Linked DNA regions of Homo sapiens: all the other regions are linked to region 1. The links are contacts of gene promoters, found by promoter capture Hi-C in blood cells and fetal thymus (Javierre and others, 2016). All regions are on one chromosome and are shown on one strand. Each heading gives the region's core, a stretch centred on a gene start or on the middle of the fragment in contact. The rest is flanking DNA. Distances are from core to core; before and after follow the strand shown. Region 1 holds the start of G6PC2 (glucose-6-phosphatase catalytic subunit 2). Region 2 overlaps STK39 (serine/threonine kinase 39). Region 3 overlaps STK39 (serine/threonine kinase 39). Region 4 overlaps STK39 (serine/threonine kinase 39). Region 5 overlaps STK39 (serine/threonine kinase 39). Region 6 overlaps STK39 (serine/threonine kinase 39). Region 7 has its middle 33 kb from the start of STK39.

What was found. Contacts are between HindIII fragments. The CHiCAGO score rates a contact against its expected background, and 5 or more counts as called.
Region 2: a contact is called between a fragment that was not itself captured here and the fragment with the promoter of G6PC2 in region 1, in 1 of 17 cell types (total CD4 T cells). The highest score is 5.3, in total CD4 T cells.
Region 3: a fragment that was not itself captured here is called in contact with the fragment with the promoter of G6PC2 in region 1 in 9 of 17 cell types (total CD4 T cells, naive CD8 T cells, fetal thymus and 6 more); the score reaches 9.9 in total CD4 T cells.
Region 4: a fragment that was not itself captured here is called in contact with the fragment with the promoter of G6PC2 in region 1 in 7 of 17 cell types (monocytes, activated CD4 T cells, fetal thymus and 4 more); the score reaches 9.1 in monocytes.
Region 5: a contact is called between a fragment that was not itself captured here and the fragment with the promoter of G6PC2 in region 1, in 1 of 17 cell types (fetal thymus). The highest score is 5.5, in fetal thymus.
Region 6: a contact is called between a fragment that was not itself captured here and the fragment with the promoter of G6PC2 in region 1, in 1 of 17 cell types (monocytes). The highest score is 5.1, in monocytes.
Region 7: a fragment that was not itself captured here is called in contact with the fragment with the promoter of G6PC2 in region 1 in 1 of 17 cell types (monocytes); the score reaches 6.2 in monocytes.

What each region holds. Positions count from the first base shown.
Region 1 is chr2:168,899,840-168,902,640 of GRCh38, reverse strand. G6PC2 (glucose-6-phosphatase catalytic subunit 2) reads right to left here and starts at 1,350. Exons shown (of 5, transcript NM_021176.3): 1 at 1,092-1,350; 2 at 87-196. The coding sequence starts at 1,309. The HindIII fragment of the contact is 12,445 bases long and covers 1-2,801 here.
Region 2 is chr2:168,100,657-168,103,457 of GRCh38, reverse strand. The region is part of intron 10 of STK39 (serine/threonine kinase 39); the gene reads left to right. Among named protein-coding and RNA genes, the nearest start is that of STK39, 150 kb to the left of the region's middle. The HindIII fragment of the contact is 5,155 bases long and covers 1-2,801 here.
Region 3 is chr2:168,137,683-168,140,483 of GRCh38, reverse strand. STK39 (serine/threonine kinase 39) reads left to right here. Exons shown (of 18, transcript NM_013233.3): 7 at 94-195; 8 at 2,263-2,396. Among named protein-coding and RNA genes, the nearest start is that of STK39, 110 kb to the left of the region's middle. The HindIII fragment of the contact is 2,059 bases long and covers 392-2,450 here.
Region 4 is chr2:168,156,189-168,158,989 of GRCh38, reverse strand. The region is part of intron 5 of STK39 (serine/threonine kinase 39); the gene reads left to right. Among named protein-coding and RNA genes, the nearest start is that of STK39, 90 kb to the left of the region's middle. The HindIII fragment of the contact is 572 bases long and covers 1,140-1,711 here.
Region 5 is chr2:168,184,252-168,187,052 of GRCh38, reverse strand. All of the region lies in intron 1 of STK39 (serine/threonine kinase 39), which reads left to right. Among named protein-coding and RNA genes, the nearest start is that of STK39, 62 kb to the left of the region's middle. The HindIII fragment of the contact is 1,646 bases long and covers 602-2,247 here.
Region 6 is chr2:168,242,001-168,244,801 of GRCh38, reverse strand. The region is part of intron 1 of STK39 (serine/threonine kinase 39); the gene reads left to right. Among named protein-coding and RNA genes, the nearest start is that of STK39, 4.2 kb to the left of the region's middle. The HindIII fragment of the contact is 5,114 bases long and covers 1-2,801 here.
Region 7 is chr2:168,279,214-168,282,014 of GRCh38, reverse strand. No RefSeq gene overlaps it. Among named protein-coding and RNA genes, the nearest start is that of STK39, 33 kb to the right of the region's middle. The HindIII fragment of the contact is 2,334 bases long and covers 203-2,536 here.

The DNA.
Region 1 (2,801 bases), core at 101-2,600:
ATAATATCAGTTCCTAGATGATAACCCTGTGTAATGATTCTCTATTGGAAGATCTTCAGTAACTGGAGCCTGCTGTAATAGCTTACCTGGACCTGTTTCACATGTAGTAGGGAACTGTTCAAGGCATGGACTTGAGTGATTTGGGTAAATCTGAGTTTCTTGGACCCACCAGTAAGGTCGATGACCAAATAATATCCTGTATTTAAAGAATTATAAACATGCATATATATTTAAATACACAGCTATTATTTAATTGGAGATTAGCAATTCTTTCCTATAAAAAATGACTCAAGCGCAGGGTTAATTGTGAAAGTTCATGATTAAGAGACTTTGAAAAAACTTAGGTCTTGGTCTCTCACACATTATTAAAGGTGGTAGCCATTTGGTATTTTGGCACCCTGGTTTCCCATGAACATGGGGGCTTTTTTCCCTTGCAGGGAATGTCTTATGGGTGCTTTGGATACTTAGACTGGAAATATCAAAATTTGTCCCTAGAATTATCAATTTGTTCATTATCACGCTGCTCATGTAAGTAATTCTTAATCACAGAATATGTGTTACAGGGGTTTGGGAATTACTTATAAGTCATTAAAGTACACATTTCTGGCCTGGCGTGGTGGCTCACACCTGTAATCCCAGCACTTTAGGAAGCCGAAGTCGGTGGATCACCTGAGGTCGGGAGTTAGAGACCAGCCTGACCAACATAGAGAAACCCTGTCTCTACTAAAAATACAAAATTAGCTGGGTGTGGTGGCACATGCCTGTAATCCCAGCTACTCGGGAGGCTGAGGTGAGAGAATTGCTTGAACCTGGGAGGCAGAGGTTGCAGTGAGCCGAGATCACGCCATTGCACTCCATCCTGGGCAACAAGGGCAAAACTCTGTCTCAAAAAAAAAAAAAAAACAAAAACATATATATACATTTCTGTGCCTTTTAAAAGTTCTACTTATGAATCTGGTGTTTCAAGTTACCTGGTATTTTTGAAAGATTTTCCAAGTAAAACGATATACATCTGAAATGTGATCATTATGCCGAAGTCACAAATTTAAGGATAAATCTTAGGAAAAAATGAAATAAAACAGAAATCTTACCATTTAAATATAAGATTTAACCAATCCCCAATGACTGCTACCCATATCATCTTGGTTCCAACTGTCTGATTAAATTGAAAACAAAGTGGAAAATAAATGAAAAAGATATTCCTGGGGTCTCCAACATTGGACATAAAATTTAGAAAAGTGTAGTAAGCTCGGTAGTCCTTCTGCAAATGCTGAATTATGAGCACTCCATTCCTGTGAAGGAAATCCATCTTGAAAAAGAGGCAATTCTAAACATAGAGCAATTGGAGCTGAAGTGCTCTGATTCCCACCGTTTTTATACTGTGCCTTTGTGGCATGTCGAGCCATTACTGCAACATGTGATGCTGACCATCTGTGGAGAGGGCACACCAGCCCTCCTCTGCTGAATAGCTCATCTATTTATGATTTTAATTGGTGGCAAAGAGTGAAGTACATGCTGATCTGTGGCAATTCGAGGGGGAAATTTGGATAGAAACACAATGAATTTCTTATGCAACCTCCCTTTTGTGCGAACAGTTGGATCATGTTTGCTTGAAATTTTTTGTACAGTTCATTTCCTCCAAGGTCAGACATTAGCAATTTCTATGTTTGGTGAAAAGACTTTGCAAATAATTATTGCATGTCAAATAGCCCATAAAGCCCTGCATTTTAATTTAAGATAGGCTGTGGCTCTCTATTTTATTGGGTCTTTGAGGAAAATGGTTGAATAAATATCTGGGTATGAAAAATATATGATATGACAGATTATGTTCTGATCACTGATTTAAAATAAGAATAGTTCAATTTTCTTTATCCAAGAGAATGATAGAATATATATGGAACAGGGAAAGAAATGTGTTGTTTTTTGACTATAAGACAAGAAAGCAGAAATGAAAGTCATTTGGATAATAGAAATGTGTTAGGATCAAATTGTATCTTTTATTAACTAGAGAATACAGTTGAGAGGAATAGGGAATGATTCATGTGACAAAGATAGGAATAGACATCAAAGGGCTTTTGACCAATCAGGAAAATGGTTTGTTGAGAACAGAGTGTTAAACAGAAGTGGAAAGCACCAAACAAATGCTAAGAATGAACAGAAGGGTAGCGCAAAGAGGCTGTGGATCTAAGTCATAGGTCCATAATCTACGGCTGTGGACTATGACTAGACTATAGACCAGGACTCTGGTCCTGGACTATAGACTACGACTGGACCCTGGACTATGGACCAGGGTAGACTGAGAATGAACAGAAGGGTAGCACAAAGAGGCTATGGATCTAAGTCAGAGAGATGTTGGGTTTAGAGAGCTGGATTGTGTCTAGGATTAGTGGGAAAGCAACAAAGCCTCACAAGGTGGCCAGGGATGGATCTAGGTAACCTTACTTGTTATTTTGTCATTCAGATTTTTGTCTTTGCTTACCATGGCCTAAGTAAAGACAAAAGACTTCACTAGAGTCCTTCACAGGCTATAACTATCACTTTGAACTTCTCTTCGAGTTTTGTGTCCCATCATTTAACAGCACCATTGTTACTGGGCTTCAGTGTCTATTGGTACCTTACCTGGAAGAAATGCATTGACTGACCATTAACATCTTTTGGGGTGCTTTTTAAATTGCCATAACTGTGTTCCACCTGAGATCAGTTATATTTCTGGTAATGGAATTTGGGCATTGGTATTATTAAAATACTTCTCAAGTGGTTCCAATGTGGTATAAGGGGCTTAGAATCATTGCACTAAGGCA
Region 2 (2,801 bases), core at 110-2,609, 800 kb after region 1:
TGGAGAATAGTTTGCTTAGGAAAATACACAGTCTAATGAAAGGGTCCGCAGCTGTGGGCTATTTTGAAGCCTACTTGAAAACATTTTGATGTGTTTATTTCTTTACTACTCTATTTCAGAAAAGATTCGAGATGGCTTACAAAGATGCAAACAGTGTAGCTGGGTAAAATTTATTTGATAAATGCAAAAAGGAAGGTAAAGGAACATAAGGATAAGAAAGTAAATAGAAAGCCAGGAGTGAGATTAGTTTACGAAATACACATGAAACATGAAATTGTCATCATCAGCAGTCCAGAATGCTTGAATATGGGTGATTTTTTCTGGTGCAGCCAAAATATTAAGTTCAGTATACTTGCTCAAGGTAGACCTCAGATGTGACCCTGAGCCAGTGTGACAGGGATGTAGCCTCATCATCCCTGTGATTGGAACACAAACCTACACAGAAGGAGTCCAAATAGTCCTCATATTGAATCCAAAGAGAAAATTCACCCAGAGAAGAGATTTTTTTTTTTTTTTTTTTTTTTTTTTGAGACGGATTCTCGCTCTGTCGCCCAGGCTGGAGTGCAGTGGTGCAATCTCGGCTCACTACAAGCTCCGCCTCCCAGGTTCATGCCATTCTCCTGCCTCAGCCTCCCGAGTAGCTGGGACTACAGGTGCCCACCACCACACAGACTAATTTTTTTTGTATTTTTAGTAGAGACGGGGTTTCACCGTGTTAGCCAGGAAGGTCTCAATCTCCTTACCTCATAATCTGCCCGCCTTGGCCTCCCAAAGTGCTGGGATTACAGGCGTGAGCCACCGCACCTGGCTGAGAAGAGATTTTTAAACAGTATAAATTCATGGTCCCAGAATGTCATAGCTGGAAGAATCTTGAAGGGCTGGCTTGTACAGCCTTCTCAGAATTTGTGAGACCTTGTAGTTGTGCATTGAAATGGGCTCTGGAGAGTGCAGAATCTGCATATGACTTTTATCTTTAATCAGTCACTGAACCTTTCCAATCCAGTTTCCTTGTATACCCAACAGGAATACGGATTGGTTTTTACCTCATAAGATCATGCAAGGGAGGGAAATGCAAATGAAAATCACAACAGGATACTACCTCATACCCGCTAGGATGGCACTAATAAAAAAGATGGACAAAAGCAAGTGTTGCTGAGGATGTGGAAGAACTGGAACCCTCCCATGCTGGTGGGAGTATAAAATGGTGCAGCCACTTTGGAAGACAGTCTGGCATTTCCTCAGAAGGTTAGCATATGGCCCAGAAATTCTACTTCTAGGTACAAATGGAAGAGAAATGAGAAGGTTATGTCCATTAAAAAAAAAAAAGTGTACATGAATGTTCAAGGCAGTATTATCCATAGTAGCCCAAAGTGGACACAACCCAACTGTCATCAACTAATGAATGGAAAGAAAGACCCATATTGGATGATTCCGTTTATGTGAAATACCCAAAACAGGCAAATCCATAGAGATAGAAGTAGATTAATGGTTGCCTAGGGCTGGTGGGTAGGGGGAAATTGGGGCATAACTGCTAATGGGGATAGGAGTTTCTTTTTGGGGTGACAGCAATGTTCTAAAATTGATTGTGGTGATGGTTGCACAATTCTGTGAATATACTAACAATTGACATTCCCATTTTACATAGTTGAGTTTTACGGTGGATTATCTCTCAATAAAAATGTATATATTTTATTTTAATTTTTTTGTTTTTATTTTTTTTGAGACAGAGTCTTGCTCGGTTGCCCAGGCTGGAGTGCAGTGGCATGATCTCGGCCCCCTGCAGCCTCTGCCTCCCAGGTTCAAGCAATTAATGTGTCCCAGCCTCCAGAGTAGCTGGGACTATAGGTGCACGCCACCATGCCTGGCTAATTTTTGTATGTTTAGTAGAGATGGGGTTTCACCATGTTGGCCAGTCTGGTCTTGAACTCTTGGCCTCAAGTGATCCACCTGCCTCATCCTCCCAAAGTGCTGGGATTACAGGTGTGAGCCACAGCGCCTGGCCAATGTATATATTTTTTAAAAACATAGCACAGTTCTTAGTGTAGTGCAGTAAGTAGTATACCAAGTAAGCTCTCAAATGTAGGCTTTTTCTTTTTCTTTTTATTATACTTTAAGTTCTGGGATACATGTACAGAACGTGCAGATTTGTTACATAGGTATACATGTGCCATGGTGGTTTGCTGCACCCATCAACCCATCATCTACATTAGGTATTTCTCCTAATGCTATCCCTCCCCTTGCCCCTAACCCCCGACAAGCCCTGGTGTGTGATGTTCCCCTCCCTGTGTCCAAGTGTTCTCATTGTTCAACTCCCACTTATGAGTGAGAACCTGCAGTGTTTGGTTTTCTGTTCCTGTGTTAGTTTGCTGAGAATGATGGTTTCCAGCTTCATCTGTGTCGCTGCAAAGGACATGAACTCATTCCTTTTTATGGCTGCATAGTATTCCATGGTGTATATGTGCCACATTTTCTTTAACCAGTCTGTCATTGATGGGCATTTGGGTTGGTTCCAAGTCTTTGCTATTGTGAATAGTGCCACAATAAACATACATGTGCATGTGTCTTTATAGTAGTATGATTTATAATCCTTTGGGTATATACCCAGTAATGGGATTGCTGGGTCAAATTGTGTTTCTGGTTCTAGATCCTTGAGGAATCACCACACTGTCTTCCACAATGCTTGAACTAATTTACACTCCCACCAACAGTGTAAAAGAGTTCCTACTTCTCCACATCCTCTCCAGCATTAAGTTTTTTGTAGATTCTGGATATTAGCCCTTTGTCAGATGGATAGATTGCAA
Region 3 (2,801 bases), core at 172-2,671, 760 kb after region 1:
ATCAACAGCTGTGGATTTCTGACATGACATGGACTTGATGATGTGTAACATGCCTGCTGTATGATTGTGTTTTTTTCCTGCTTTCTTTCTTAGGTGAGAGGCTATGACTTCAAGGCTGACATGTGGAGTTTTGGAATAACTGCCATTGAATTAGCAACAGGAGCAGCGCCTTATCACAAATATCCTCCCATGAAAGTAATTACAATTGGAAATACTACATCGGGGTTGAAATGTGATTGGACGGAATCTGTTTTCTAATTCTCTTCAACATCTTCATTCTTCTCTTAGACCCGAGGAGAATTAATGGAGGAACGCAGCCAAGTTGAACATTGTCTGATTTTCTCAGTGGACAGAATAGGACAAAAGTAGCATAATTCCCAGCTTTGAAGCTTGCTTTATAGTCTCAGCACAGAGTTAAGAAAATAATGTTATCAGATTGGTTGATGGAGGTTGATAGCTATGACAAATGCTGGTCATTACTCTTTTGATAGCAGAACAACGCCAGGTTCCCAGAGAATATCTCAAAATAGATTATAGTGATGTCATCTCTGCAAATGGGTTTCCCAGATTTTCAGAGCTTTTTTTTTTCTTTCTTTTTAAGTGGACTACAACATTTTTACCCCTGCTCTTATAGTGTAATGTTGGCAACTGATCTGATATAAGTGAGCCACAGTGTTTTTAGGATGCTATTTTCACGTTTCTGCTCTTCTTTTAACTGGTTTATACCTCATTATTTCTCTTAGTTCTGAGATAGTGGTATCAGGGCTTATTTACCCAACTGGATTTTGTTTTGAGGCTGAAATAGTTTAGTGAAATTATAATGCTATTTTACATAGAGTATGGTCTATGATTGTTTCATGGTTACTGGAAAAATTTGGGAGGATTTATTTTAAAAACCCAAGAATAAAAAGTGAGTTTTACTGATTAAAAGAAGTAGTATACTCATATTGTAGAAAGTTTGGATGTGCAACTCAGACTAAAGAAGAAAAACAATCATCCGTAATCTCATCAACCAGACAATCTCTACTAAGGTTTCAGTGTAATTCATTTTATTGTTTTTATATATATATATATAAATTTTTTTTAACATAGTTAGGATTTTAGTGTATTTGTGTGTGTGTGGGTACATATACCGGATTTTGCTAGCAGAAAATTTAAAATTGAAGCGTAAACAATTGAAGTGACCTCTTGGAGAAAAAGCACTGAAGTAATGCTGAAGGATTTTTTCTTTTATTCAGTTTTTCTTTCTTCATTTTCTTTCTTTTGCCTCTTCTCAGTGTTTCCCACCTGAATTCAAAGTCGCACTTGCTTGTCCCAGCCTGACGTCCTCTAGGACTTTTCTTCAGAGTTCCCAGTCTCCCGCTTTCTCCTGTGGGCTATTATCCTCCACAAACAATAAGCCGTCACTTTCACGCTTCATCTATTCACACATCTGAAAGTGTTTGAAAAGAGGCTTGACATGTATAGCATTTGCATAAATTAAGGCTGAATTATGCATTAATGAGTTTTATTGATTGTACAGGCTAGTAGTTTTCTACACTTTCCACTTTTTTTTTAAAGCAAATACTTTTGAAGTTAGTATGAAAGAGTGGAATTTTTACCGTTTTGATTTAAAGTTGTATTTTATTTTGTTTTGTCCCCCTCCGAAAGCAGCAAGGACTTTGGATTTGATGACAGTTTTTAGCAACTCAGTTATATTCTGGCTATCCTTCAGTGTCCTGCTCTCTCAGCTTTGCCAAGCCTTTTAGCAATTTTCTGTATGTTTTCTCATTTTTTTAAAGGAAATCATGTTACCTCCTGGGATGTTGTGGTTTTATTTTTAGGGCTAGTAATGTGTTACAGAAGCCTTGAGTACAGGCAGTTCCTTACTTATGAATGACCTGTATACATGAACAGTCACTGCCTCGCTGGCCCTCTCTCTTCTCCTCCACCCGCTTTCCCAACTAGCCTGTGCTGGAGCTACGTGCTCCTCAAGGCAGTACACGAGCCAGTTCCCAGAAAGCTCTGTCCGGGATCATTCTTAACACATAGAGCAAGTTTTGTAAGTTCTGTCAATGGAATAACAAAAAGGTTAAAGGGGGCATGAACACATTTGCAGTGGTAATGAATACTTTAAATACACAATTTCTGCAAAGTTAAAATCATGGGAAAGCACTTTGTATCTAATCAAGGATGGTTTTTTACACTTTTATGAAAAATTCAAAACTAGATTGTAGCAATTGCTATACTGAGATTCTGTCTTCATGTTTGTTTCTGCTGCAGGTGTTAATGTTGACTTTGCAAAATGATCCACCCACTTTGGAAACAGGGGTAGAGGATAAAGAAATGATGAAAAAGTACGGCAAGTCCTTTAGAAAATTACTTTCACTGTGTCTTCAGAAAGATCCTTCCAAAAGGTAAGTGAAACTTAGTGGATGAGTTAATGACCTGGTTTGAGCCATGACAAAGCTTTGTTTGTAGATGGGGAAAGGCTTTGTGAGGACACTGGAAAGGTATTTCTTGTCTGGGAAACCCTGCTGTGGTCCCCAGATTTCCAACCTGTTAGTGAAAGACGGTGTGGGTCCAAGAGGGAAAGAAGTGGGTGAAGAACGAAGGAGAGGCAGAGGAAAAATTGTGGTGTTAACAAGATTCACTGTGCTTGTTAAGTGTGGGCTCTGTCATCAAAGGAAATGAAGTAAAACAGAAATCAAAAGAAATTGGCAGTGCTGCATTCAGAAGCTGAGCTAATATTCTTCACTGTGTAGGTTGAACTGACCTCTCAGGATTTGAATATCCTGCTAGCTCCAGTCTAAACTAGGCAG
Region 4 (2,801 bases), core at 176-2,675, 740 kb after region 1:
GGCCTGATTTAGACCATGAGAAACCCTCACTTTATTATGCAGCTAGAAGTGTGGTGGATAGGATAATGAGCCTGGTTCTGTTGAACACAGTCCAAATTCTCTGGGAAGAATGTACATTTCTATTGAACGTGGGTATAAAATCAGGAACTAATGTGTCTTGAGTGCTTCCTGTGTGTCAGGCTAGGTTTTGGATTCTGAATGCTTTGAGTCTCATTCAGTCCTCAGCACAACTCCATGAGGAAGGTACTATTGCATCCATTTTACATAGGAGAAACTAAATTACAGTGGGGAAGTCAGTTGCCCAGGTCACACGTAGAATAAGCGGTGTAGCCATGCTTTGGGTTTGGACAGTCTGACTCTAGAAACTGTCAACTCACATCTATGGGATTTCCAGGAGGAGGACCTTAAATCTGGATTTAAATGACCTCACTTTCAGATGGAATATACCCCAGCGATCACTAGCTCTTCTGTGTCTCTGCATAAATCGATTCCCCTTTGGGCCAGGGAACATATTCAGCACCTTCTTCCTCCTTGCTCCTTCAGGCTGAAACACAAGGGTGTCCCTGGTAAGGTTTCAGGGCATAGGAGAAGCAGCCATCTAAGCGTCATTTGGTATAGAATTAAGCTCAATAATGACACCACACTCTTTTCAGACTGGAAAACTTCAGGTTTGATGTAGTGAATTAGAACCTGAGGACAGCCTACTCAGGGTTTAAGAGAAAATGCTTTCCTTCTTACTGTACCTTCTATGCTTAGAGGTCCAGTGTGTGTAACTTCCTGATAATCAACTTGGATGCCTTGGAAAATGTAATAGGTTTTGCTGCACTGTGTGATAGAAGGGGGAGTGGCTACTCGAAAGTCATGTTCTTCCCACGGCATAGCATTTTATCTTCCAATTTGATGCCCTGTCATATTGTCAGGAAGAGCTTAGTGCTTTGGCAAATGACTAAGCCTGTTTGTCCAGAATTAATGAGAGACACTATTTTGAGCAAACAGAAATTCATATGAAACAGATCACTTTGAGGTGGTTTCTGCTAATCTTTTTAATCTAAGATTTAAAAAAAATAGTGGCTACTCTTGATGTTCTATAAAAATGTTGATTTCAACACCTTTGATTTATAAAGAACTTTGTAGAAGCTTACTACTACATTATGTAAGGTAGATCTCATGCTCATTTTCACTTACGTTTGCCTTTTAGGTGTGTGTGTGCTGTGGTTTGAATTTTGTGTGCCCTCCAAATTCATATGTTGAACCCTAATTACCAATGTGATGGTGTTAGGAGGTGGGGCCTTTGGGAGGTAATAAGATCATGAGGCCTAAACCCTCATGAGTAGGGCCAGTGCCTTTATAAAGAGGCCCCAGAGAGCTGCCGTGCCCTTCTACCATGTGAGGACACGAACAGAAGGCACCATCTATAAACAAGAAGGCGGGTCCTTACTAGATAGTGAATCTGCCGATGCCATAATCTTGGACTTCCCAGCCTGCAGAACTGTGATAAATAAGATTTTGTTGTTTTTAAGTCACCCAGTCTAAGGTATTTTGTTATAGTAGGCCCAATACACAAAGACAGTGCTTATGTGTGTGAATGTGAATTTCCCTTCCCTGGTTTTACATAACAGAAATAAAAACTGGTACTGAGCGAAAGCAGCCTGGAACTCTAGAAAGTTACCATCAAAATGCCTCACGTATGTGCATCCATTCAAATCAAGCTTATGCCCTGGGTTTTTCACTGTCCAAGGTACATTGGTAGAACTTTGGGTAGCATCTCTTATTTACTGGGAGGGAGATAATATCCTTATCAGCCTTGAATACATCTTCATTTTAAATCTGCATCTTGAACACTGAAAACCCCATGACTAAAAGTGCTAGGAAAACATGCAATGAAACTTAACTTGCTTCTGTCACTTAGGCGTTATCCATTAAGGAGCTAGAGGAAGATGGGCAAGGTGGTTGAGTTTTTACACCCATAGCTGCTAGGTTCTTTCATTTTCCTTCTGTGGCCTTTGGCCCTCATAAAGTGCACTTTGATGGGGAGGGTAGGGGTTTAAGAGTTATTTTTTGTGTTGTAGGGAAGAGAGGCTGCTGCTTTGAGCAAGGCACCCGAGCAGCGCTGGAGTCAGCTTCTGATTAGTGTGGGAAAGCGCTGAAAGCCCCGGAGGCATCCAATCAGGAAATGATGTCATCACATTTATGAGCACCTTGGCCCAGAGCATGGGCTCTGACACCAGACAGCCATAGTTCAGTCCTGGCATTGCTCCTTCTAGCTGTGTAACCAAGTTATAGCTTTAGCTTCTCTGTGCCTCATTTTGCACGTTTGTGTAATGAGAATATACTGCGGCATTAAAGGAGTTAAAACACATTTTATTTTAGAATTTGCTAACTCATTGCTTTCGTATTGAAATTGGGATGGTGTCCTCTAATTACTTAGGGTGTGGTAAGCTCACGGTGGCTAGGGAGGTGCGAGGCCTTAGGCACTCCATCTGACCTCCTGCCGTGTTATTTTGCTCTTTTCTTTTTCCCATCAGTTTCCTCAATATCACCAGAGTGAAGAATCTGCAGTGTAGATCTGACTGTATCTTCCTCTTGCATAAAGTTTATAAGCATTGTTGATGGAATAAAGCATTGTTGATGGAATAAAGCTCCAGCTTCCTACTAATGGCAGATGAGGGACCTGCCTGTTTTTCTGGTCATGTCTGCAAGTGCTTTCTGCTGTGACTTGAAATGCTTATAGCTTCTTGTTCAGGGTTCCCCTTTCTTACCTGAGTAACTTCTTTTCATGACTTATTCATGAAGAATTCTTT
Region 5 (2,801 bases), core at 175-2,674, 720 kb after region 1:
GTTAGATATCAAAGTGCATTATACATGACAATCTTTGCTATGGAATATTAATTCACAGCTGTTTCTGAATTGGATTGTCTCTTATATTTTAAACTCTTATGCTCATCATGCTGTATCAGACTTTAGAAATCATTTAGTTCTTTGGTTTCCAAATTTAGCTCTCCTAGCCTCTCTTTTAAACCAGTCTAATCTTCCTGGTGCTAAGCAAAATGAAACTCAGTTCTGACCCTGAGCCACTTTGCCCTCTTTTCCCTTGGGTGCCATATAAACAGTAGATATAGTTTACCTCCTTTATGTCACAGATGGAGAAATGAGTCCCAGAGAGAGAGCCTAACATTTATTGAGTTGATGTTTTCCAGGGATGTGAAATATATTATGTTATGAAGCCTTAAAGGTGTATTTTATTATGCCCATTAAGGAAGCTGAAGTCTAGATAGCAGTTAGGTCGAAAGTCACAGAGGGAATCAATACCACGTTTGGATAGAATCCCTGTCTAACCTTCTTTTCAAGGCTCCTACTAACCTAAGATGGGAACTACAATGAGCTACCAGAGGCCTTTCAGTTGAATCTTGCCATTTGCTGTTGACTTAATCAGGAAGCTTCTAAGAACTTCTAATTAGTATGGCATTCTCTGCCATAGGTGTTAGTGGAAGAATGACTTTGAACAGACATTTCAAGGCTTTTGTATTAGTCTGCTTGGGCTGTTGTAACAAAATACCATATACTGAGTGGCTTAAACAACAGAAATGTATTTCTCACAGTTCTGGAGTCTAGGAAGTCCAGATCAATGTGCTGACCACTTCAGTTTCTGGTGGGCTCTCTTGCTGGCTTGTAAACAGGCACCTTCTTGCTGTGTCCTCATAGGACAGAGAGGGAAAGTAAGCTCTCTATTGTCTCTTTTTGTAAGGATACTAATCCTATTGGACCAGGGCTCTGTCCTGATGACCTCATTTAACCTTTAATTACCTCCATAAAGGTGGTAATTATCTGTTAACTGTATCTCTAAATATAGTCACATTGGGGATTAGGGCTTCAACAAAGACATTTTAGGGGAACACAGACATTCAGTCCACAACAGCATTTTAGTCATCCCTGTTAACTTCTGCAGAGGAAGTGATCCTATAGAAGGATTTATTCCACTTGAAGCAGGAATGGTCACCTTTGGCACTTTATTATCTAGTGAACTGCCTGCTACATGGCAGGGATTTAATTACTGTTTGTTGATGAATTAATATAAGCAAATATCTTTTTGCTGCTTTTTTGCACTAAATGCACTAAATGCAAAGAGGAAGTTATTGTGTGAGTCATGGGAGTAGGGACTTTGAACATACTGTTGAAACTGCATTTGACAATAGTAGTGATTTTTGCAAAATAAACACTGTAGTTTTTCATGTTAATTTCACATAGACCTTAGTGAAATGCAAAGTTAGAATACTAAATTATATTTCCATGAAATATTTCTTTGGATAACTGAAAGTATAAAATGCAGGTATGCAGTGTTCTGGTTATTTACCTTAATACCAGCAGCAGTACAGAGGGGAAAATGAGAAGAGGTGTCAACTAAAGGAAAAATCTGCATCATGGTAATGAACGTGAGCAATCTCTTACCTCTGATTGCCATTGACATAATCACTATCTAAAACTTCCAAGTAGCTGTTCTTAGTCGGGAATTACTTAGCAAAAGTGAATTGAGATAGAGTGACTTAAAAGAGTGAACTGAAAAGATTTAAAGCCGTGCCCACTTAACTTGTGCATATGTGCATACAGGCCATAATCCTATTGAATGATTTATTGCACTTGAAATAGGAGTCAGGAATAAAATGAGAAATTCATAAAATGTTAAGAACTCTTATTCCAAAAGGGGTGCATGATACTTCATTGAAAATATGCTACTAATGTTAATGAGTCATGTGTCAGTATCATATATTGTTCAAAATAAATACAAGGTGCTGTTCAGCATAGTAATTGCTCTTATTTTATTTCATGTTGCTAACACTTGTCCAGTTCCTGTATTTACAAGCCCCACATTTTTTAGCTTCCTCTTAAACTAATCAGCAAAGTGCATAAAAACCCTTAAAGCAAGACAGTGTTGGTATTATTTCTAAATGTCCTTTAGAATTATGCAGTTAGGTCACCTCCTTTCCTTTCAAAGCATGGATTTACTCTAATCCTGGGAATCCTAATCTAGTACTAGCAGACTCCAAACTTTTGATCATCACTTACAGTAAAACATGTCATACTAAAGCTTGGGCGTAAGTGAAACAAAAGTTTCATAAAGCAGTTTTTACCCTTATTACATTCTGATGCTTCCCTTAAACAATGCTGGCCTCCACCCAGTTAGTTGATTTTGTGACCAGTGGATCCTCACTGGCAATTTGAAAAAACACCAACCTGGTGCACAGAATGGTAGATAAGGAATAAGTATGCCTAGGGTCCTAATCCTGTGCTTTCCAATTGCTGCAGGAAACACATCCCTATCCTTCACAGGACCCTGTTTTCTCATTCATAAAGTGAGGGGGTGGGTTGGACTTGATGCTCTCTAAGGTGCCTTTCCACCTTTAACTTTGTTCTTGGTCTCTTCTATAGTTGAAGGGAAATCTTTGGATTTAGAGTAGAATCTCCCAAACTGTTTAATGAATGGTTAAATCCATCCATGTTGTGACAATGATCTCAGGTCACAAAGCTTCATAATTCTGTCTAGAGATGAGAAGTAGCCAGTCGTTCCTTAGTTAGCTGTAGTTGTAAAGCAGTAACAATTCTCTAGCTGTAAAGCTTTAATAAAAGATTTTTCTCACCACCTA
Region 6 (2,801 bases), core at 209-2,708, 660 kb after region 1:
AGGGCTTTTCTACATTTAAAGTTTATCTCATATTTTCCCAACTAAAAGAGAAAGAGTTGGCCTGTGTGGAGGCCCTGTTATTGAAAAATCAAATTGCTGGAATAGGTTTTTCGCAAGGGCTTAATGTTTATAAGGAATTACAAACCTGTTTCCATTTAGGGTTTAATGCTAGTTGAGAGATTAAGACTGAACTTGTGGTTAAGCACTTTTGCTTAAACATTACACGCAGAAGTTAGCAGTTCAAACACTGAACCAGTTTCAACATGAATGCCAGTTGACAGCCTTTGCTTCTACCCGCCATACGGCAGGTGTCATATGATATGACTCCAGCAGTGTGAACCGTGACCAGCAGCAGGAGGCTCAGATGTGCCTGAACAGAAAACCAAAGGAGGCACCGTGTTTTAACTTTCCAGCATGGCACGGGCACGGAGGACTTTTTCTTCATTTCCTTCTGGGCAGAGTTTGGTCCCCCAGGATTAAGAGAGAATAAGTTTACTAAAATCCAAACAAAGCAGGTTCAGTTGTTTGACTTCAGTTTTAGAAAAATAAACACAGGATTTTGCAAACCTAAAAATAAAGTTTTCTCTTTATTGTATTGTTGTTCTTGTGTTTTAAAACGTCAGTGGAGAAATTGTAATGCTCTTAGGAGTATTCTGGTTCATAAGTTTATTCATGACCTGGAAATGATGTAAAATCGATGGGAGGGAGCTTTATATTTACAGAGGGGTTAAAAATGTTGGAAATTATTAAATTCCTTCTTCCAGACATTGATATCCTTGTCTTAGTAGATTTCAAATATTTCTGTCTTTTTGGAGGCTTTCCGACCTGTTTATACTCTTCAGCCTTGTTAATCTTTGTTCCTTACCTCTCTAAAGAAGGAATTTGGGGGTGAGTTGAGCCCCCAAAAGTAGGTACCCCTACCTTTAGAAGTATAAGGGGCACTTAAAGCTATGCCAGTTGAAAACTTAGTTTATTTGTTGGGGGTGTTAATAATATTACCTAGATTTGCTAAACAGGGAATGAAAGTGAATCATATAAGTGTTTACTTGGCCATCCGTAATGGAATGGAGCAGCCTCAATGAACTTCTCATTCAAAGAATTGTAGTCATTGAAGTACTAATTTCTGTATTTGAATTAGGTGATTCCAGCAATGTTGTTATCTTTGCTGAATTTCTTCTGAGAAACCCTAGACTCCTGCCTCAGCAGGAGTTTGTTTGATTTTCTTAGGGTTTTTGCAGGATGCACCTTTCTTTATGTAGTTTTATACTAGATTTCTCAGCATTGCTTCACTTTTGTCCCGGGTGGTCATTTAGAATGACCTAAAAGTAACAAATTGCCATCTTAGTCAACACGAAGAATTTGAGTTCTAGAATCCTGGACATGGTTTGACAGAGGGTTCCTTTGAATGCTTTATTTCTCTCCTGTGAGGCATTGTTTATCCATTCAGGTGCGTTTTACTCAGGTCCAGGTAATAGCACATATGGCCAGGTCTTTAAGGAGCAACAGCCTCTTGTAAAATGAGATTGTAAATAGCCCTGGGCATTCCCACTTTGCTCTGTGCTCTCAGAGTTTCTGTGGATTTCTATGGTTTGGGGGTTAGAATTGGTTTTTATAGATATCCTAGAGGCAGTTTGAGGACAGTGGTACCTTCGCTGGCGCTAGGGTAAGGGAGCCGGAGCACTGAGTGTGTTCTGATCTCCCAGACCTTTATACCAGGCTGCCTTGCTGCTGCAGTGGGTTCTTTGATCTTGATTAGTTTGTTTGTTGTTGTTTTTAAAATACTAAATGATGTCTGAAATGCTTTGTCTCAAGACAGGGCTTTGATTTTCATTTCATTTCACTTTCTTTTTTAATAAATAGAAAAATGTATATAGAAATGTTCTTTTGTATTTTGTATTTTTTTTTTTTTGATAAAGGGTCTCACTCTGTCACCCAGGCTAGAGTGCAGTGGTGCAATCATACCTCACTGCAGCCTCGAACTCTTGGGCTCAAGTGATCTTCCCACATCAGCCTCCTGAGTAGCTGGGTCTATAGGTGCAAACCATCATGCCTGCCTAATTTTTTTTTTCTTTTTTTATTTTTAAGAAATGGGGGTCTCACTATGTTGCCCAAGCTGCTCTTGAACTCCTCCGCTCAGCGATGCTCCGGCCTTGGCTTCCCAATGTGTTGGGATTACAGGCGTGAGCCACTGTGCCTGGCCTCTTTATATATATATATATATATATATATATATATATATATTTTTTTTTTTTTTTGTAAGAGTCTTGCTCTGTTGCCTGGGCTAGATTGCAGTGGCGCCATCTCAGTTCACTGCAGCCTCTGCCTCCTAGGTCCAAGCAGTTCTCCTGCCTCAGCCTCCCGAGTAGCTAGTATTACAGGCCTGGCTAATTTTTGTATTTTTTGATAGAAACAGGGTTTCACCATGTTGGCCAGGCTGGTCACAAACTCCTGGTCTGAAGTAACCCGCCTGCCTCAGCCTCCCAAGTTGCTGGGATTACAGCGTGAGTCACTGTGCCCGGCCTCTTTTGTATTATTTTTATTGTGGTAAAATATACACAACAAAAATTGTACCATTTTAACCGTTCTTAAAGTGTGCAATTCAGTAGCATTAATTATATTTACAAGATAAATACTCTTTTAAATGTGCTGTCATGGGGCTGGGGGGAGAGATCTCAAGATCTCTCTTGAAACTGTGGTAAAGTGACTGCAATCCTTTATTTATGCATTTGATTTTTAACTAGTGATATTATGAATTCTTCCCTGACTTTTATGGTTTATTGTATAGTACATTTTGTGATGGT
Region 7 (2,801 bases), core at 120-2,619, 620 kb after region 1:
GACTTTGCAACAGAAATCCACATAGACGAGGCAGAATTGGTTCCAACACCTGACTGATACGAATTATTTATGGAGCTCATATAAGTTTGGTAAACATGTGTAAGAGCCAATCAAAATGTTCCATGCTTAATAGGAAATACGTAGTAGATAGAATGGTAAATTAATTAACACAAATTCAGGGAGTTCATTTACAGCTTAAGCTTGGTAAACATGTAGTATTGCCTTTTAAACGTAAGTCTCTGAAGGACATGTAAAGGTTACTTACTGTGGCTGGCATTATCTGGAAGACCAAAGTAGAACTACCAAAGCAAAGCTAAAGCTAACTGAACTATAGCTGTGGATACCAGAACACTTTTGGCTTGGAGGTAGTAGCTGGGAAAAATAGATCTTCTGCACAGGTGGGGGAAATGCACATCCCAATCTACCCACCTGCAAGAAATGAAGCACTCTCCTTTCAGTTCAGTAGTTCATTTCTTGCAGGTGGGTAGATTGGGCGGTGCCCAGAATACTCTGTGAAGTAATCTTATTCTTGTGAAAGGGTGGAGAACTTGTAGTACCCTTAGGACATGAGGATAGTAATATTTAGCATCCAGCTGTTGTGAAGATTACTTCTAGCTGTTGTGAAGATTACTTAAATGGCATGTGTGGATCCTTTAGCACAAATCTTGTCTTATAATAAATGCACAATAAACACTAGCTATTGTGATTAGCGGTATAACTAGAATCTCTTTAGGATGATGGGAGAAAATCATCAGATATAGAAACATATATAACATTTTGAACAGCTGCAGCCAATCTGAATCATCACAGTAAGTTGTTCCTGAAGAAATAAGAAGTTTGGAAACTTCTAATGTATGCTTTCAACAAGACTGATAAAGACAATACATTGATAAAACTATGACACATAACCATGAAAAGGAAAATAATTGAGAGTAGGAAAGAGCTCTTGGAAATGCAAATCACAGCTCCTAAATTATAAACAATAAGAAGAAATAAAAGCAAATGAAATATGATAAAACTTTGATTCAGGGAATTAGGAAACATGTTCAAGAAATTTTCCCAGAACTTAAAAAGACAAATTCAAAATGATGAAAAAAAAAAAAAGGTTAGATGCCAGAGCACTAGCCCCTGCCTGTAGTCCTAGCTACTCAGGAGGATAAGGTGAGAGGATCACTTAAAGCCAGGAGTTGGAGGTGATAGTGTGCTATGATCACACCTGTGAATAGCCATTGCACTCCAGCCTGGGCAACATAGCAAGCCCCTGTCTCAAAAAGCAAAAAAAGAAAGGTAAATATGTTGTCATAAGTTTAAAGATCATTTGTATTTCTTTCTGTTCATATCCTATGCCTGTTTATTAATTGGGCTGTGAGTGTTTTGCTACCTAATTGCTGGCAACCCTATATTGGAGAGGGAATCATATTTTGTAGCGTTAGCTGCAAAAAATTTTCTAATTTATCACATATACTTCTTAAAATTATTCTAGGCAATCAAAGATTGGTCCATAATAAAAAAATTGAAATATGGACAGTGTAGTTTAACCATTAACAAAATAAAAATGTCAAATCACCAAAAGGGGAAAAAAGCAAGGATCCTAACACAACATAGTAAATAATTTTTAAAAAAACAGCAAGAAAGCATAAAATATATAAAAAAAGAAGGGAAACCATGTATATCCATTCCTTAATAAATACAAGTAACTTGAAGTTAAATAATAAAGATCTTCATATTGAGTCAAAAAATCATGTCCAAGTATAACTTGTTAATAAAAAGGTAAAAATAAAGTTATGTGTGAGAGTAAAACAAAGGAAAAGTGCCATTATTATTATCAAACTAGAAATTGAGAAAAAGATCATTAAATGGAACAAAGAATCATTTTATATTAAGGGTAGAATACACAACAGAAATACAGTATTAATTTCTATAAGCTAAATGATATAACTTTAAAATATGAAACTGACAAAACCATTAGTGGGAATATTTAAACATACCTCCATCTGTTTTTATATATCGAGTGGACAAAAATTAAATAAGAAAAGAGAGAAACTGAAAAAGCAAGTATAAGTACAAAGACAAATTTTTGAATAAACTCTGCCAGAGTTCAATTTTTCCATATGTATAAGAGTGAATCAAAATGTTCCATGCTTAATAAGAAATACATAGTAGATAGAACGGTAAATTAATTAACACAAATTTAGTGAGTTCATTTACAACTTAAGTGAGCAGATTAAATTTCTTAAAACAAATATTTTAGTAATGTGCTGGTAAATATTTTACAACCAGCTCTCTAGGGTAAGAAAAGAGCTGTGATTTTTAGCATTTGCCTATTTTGGTGGTGTCAATAATATTCCTACTCTGGCTTATTTCAAGCAAATAACATGAAGTCACTGAAAGCAGAGTTGGGAAGATATATTCCTCACTGGCTTTTGCAGGCTGGTGTGAGTAGGCTTTAGCACACAACTGATACATTTAATGACAAGTGAGCAAGCACATTTTCCTATAATGAACAAGTCTAACAAGCCTTCTAGTCACTCAAGCTTCATGGATAAATGGTCCAGTCTGGGGAGACACAGCAAAAACTTTATAATAAATAGTTAAGTATTACAAAAATCCACTTGCCTTTATCATGAAACATAAAAACAGGAACTGATTATAATGCTAACAAAAAACAGAGAATATGTAGATTTAAGACCAAATAATATCACTGCTACCCATAGCTAATCTCTGATGGTGTTCTTTGCTTATAGTATCTCCGTGGTCACCAAAATGGAAATAAAAAGTAAGAACAATTTCAACTTATCACT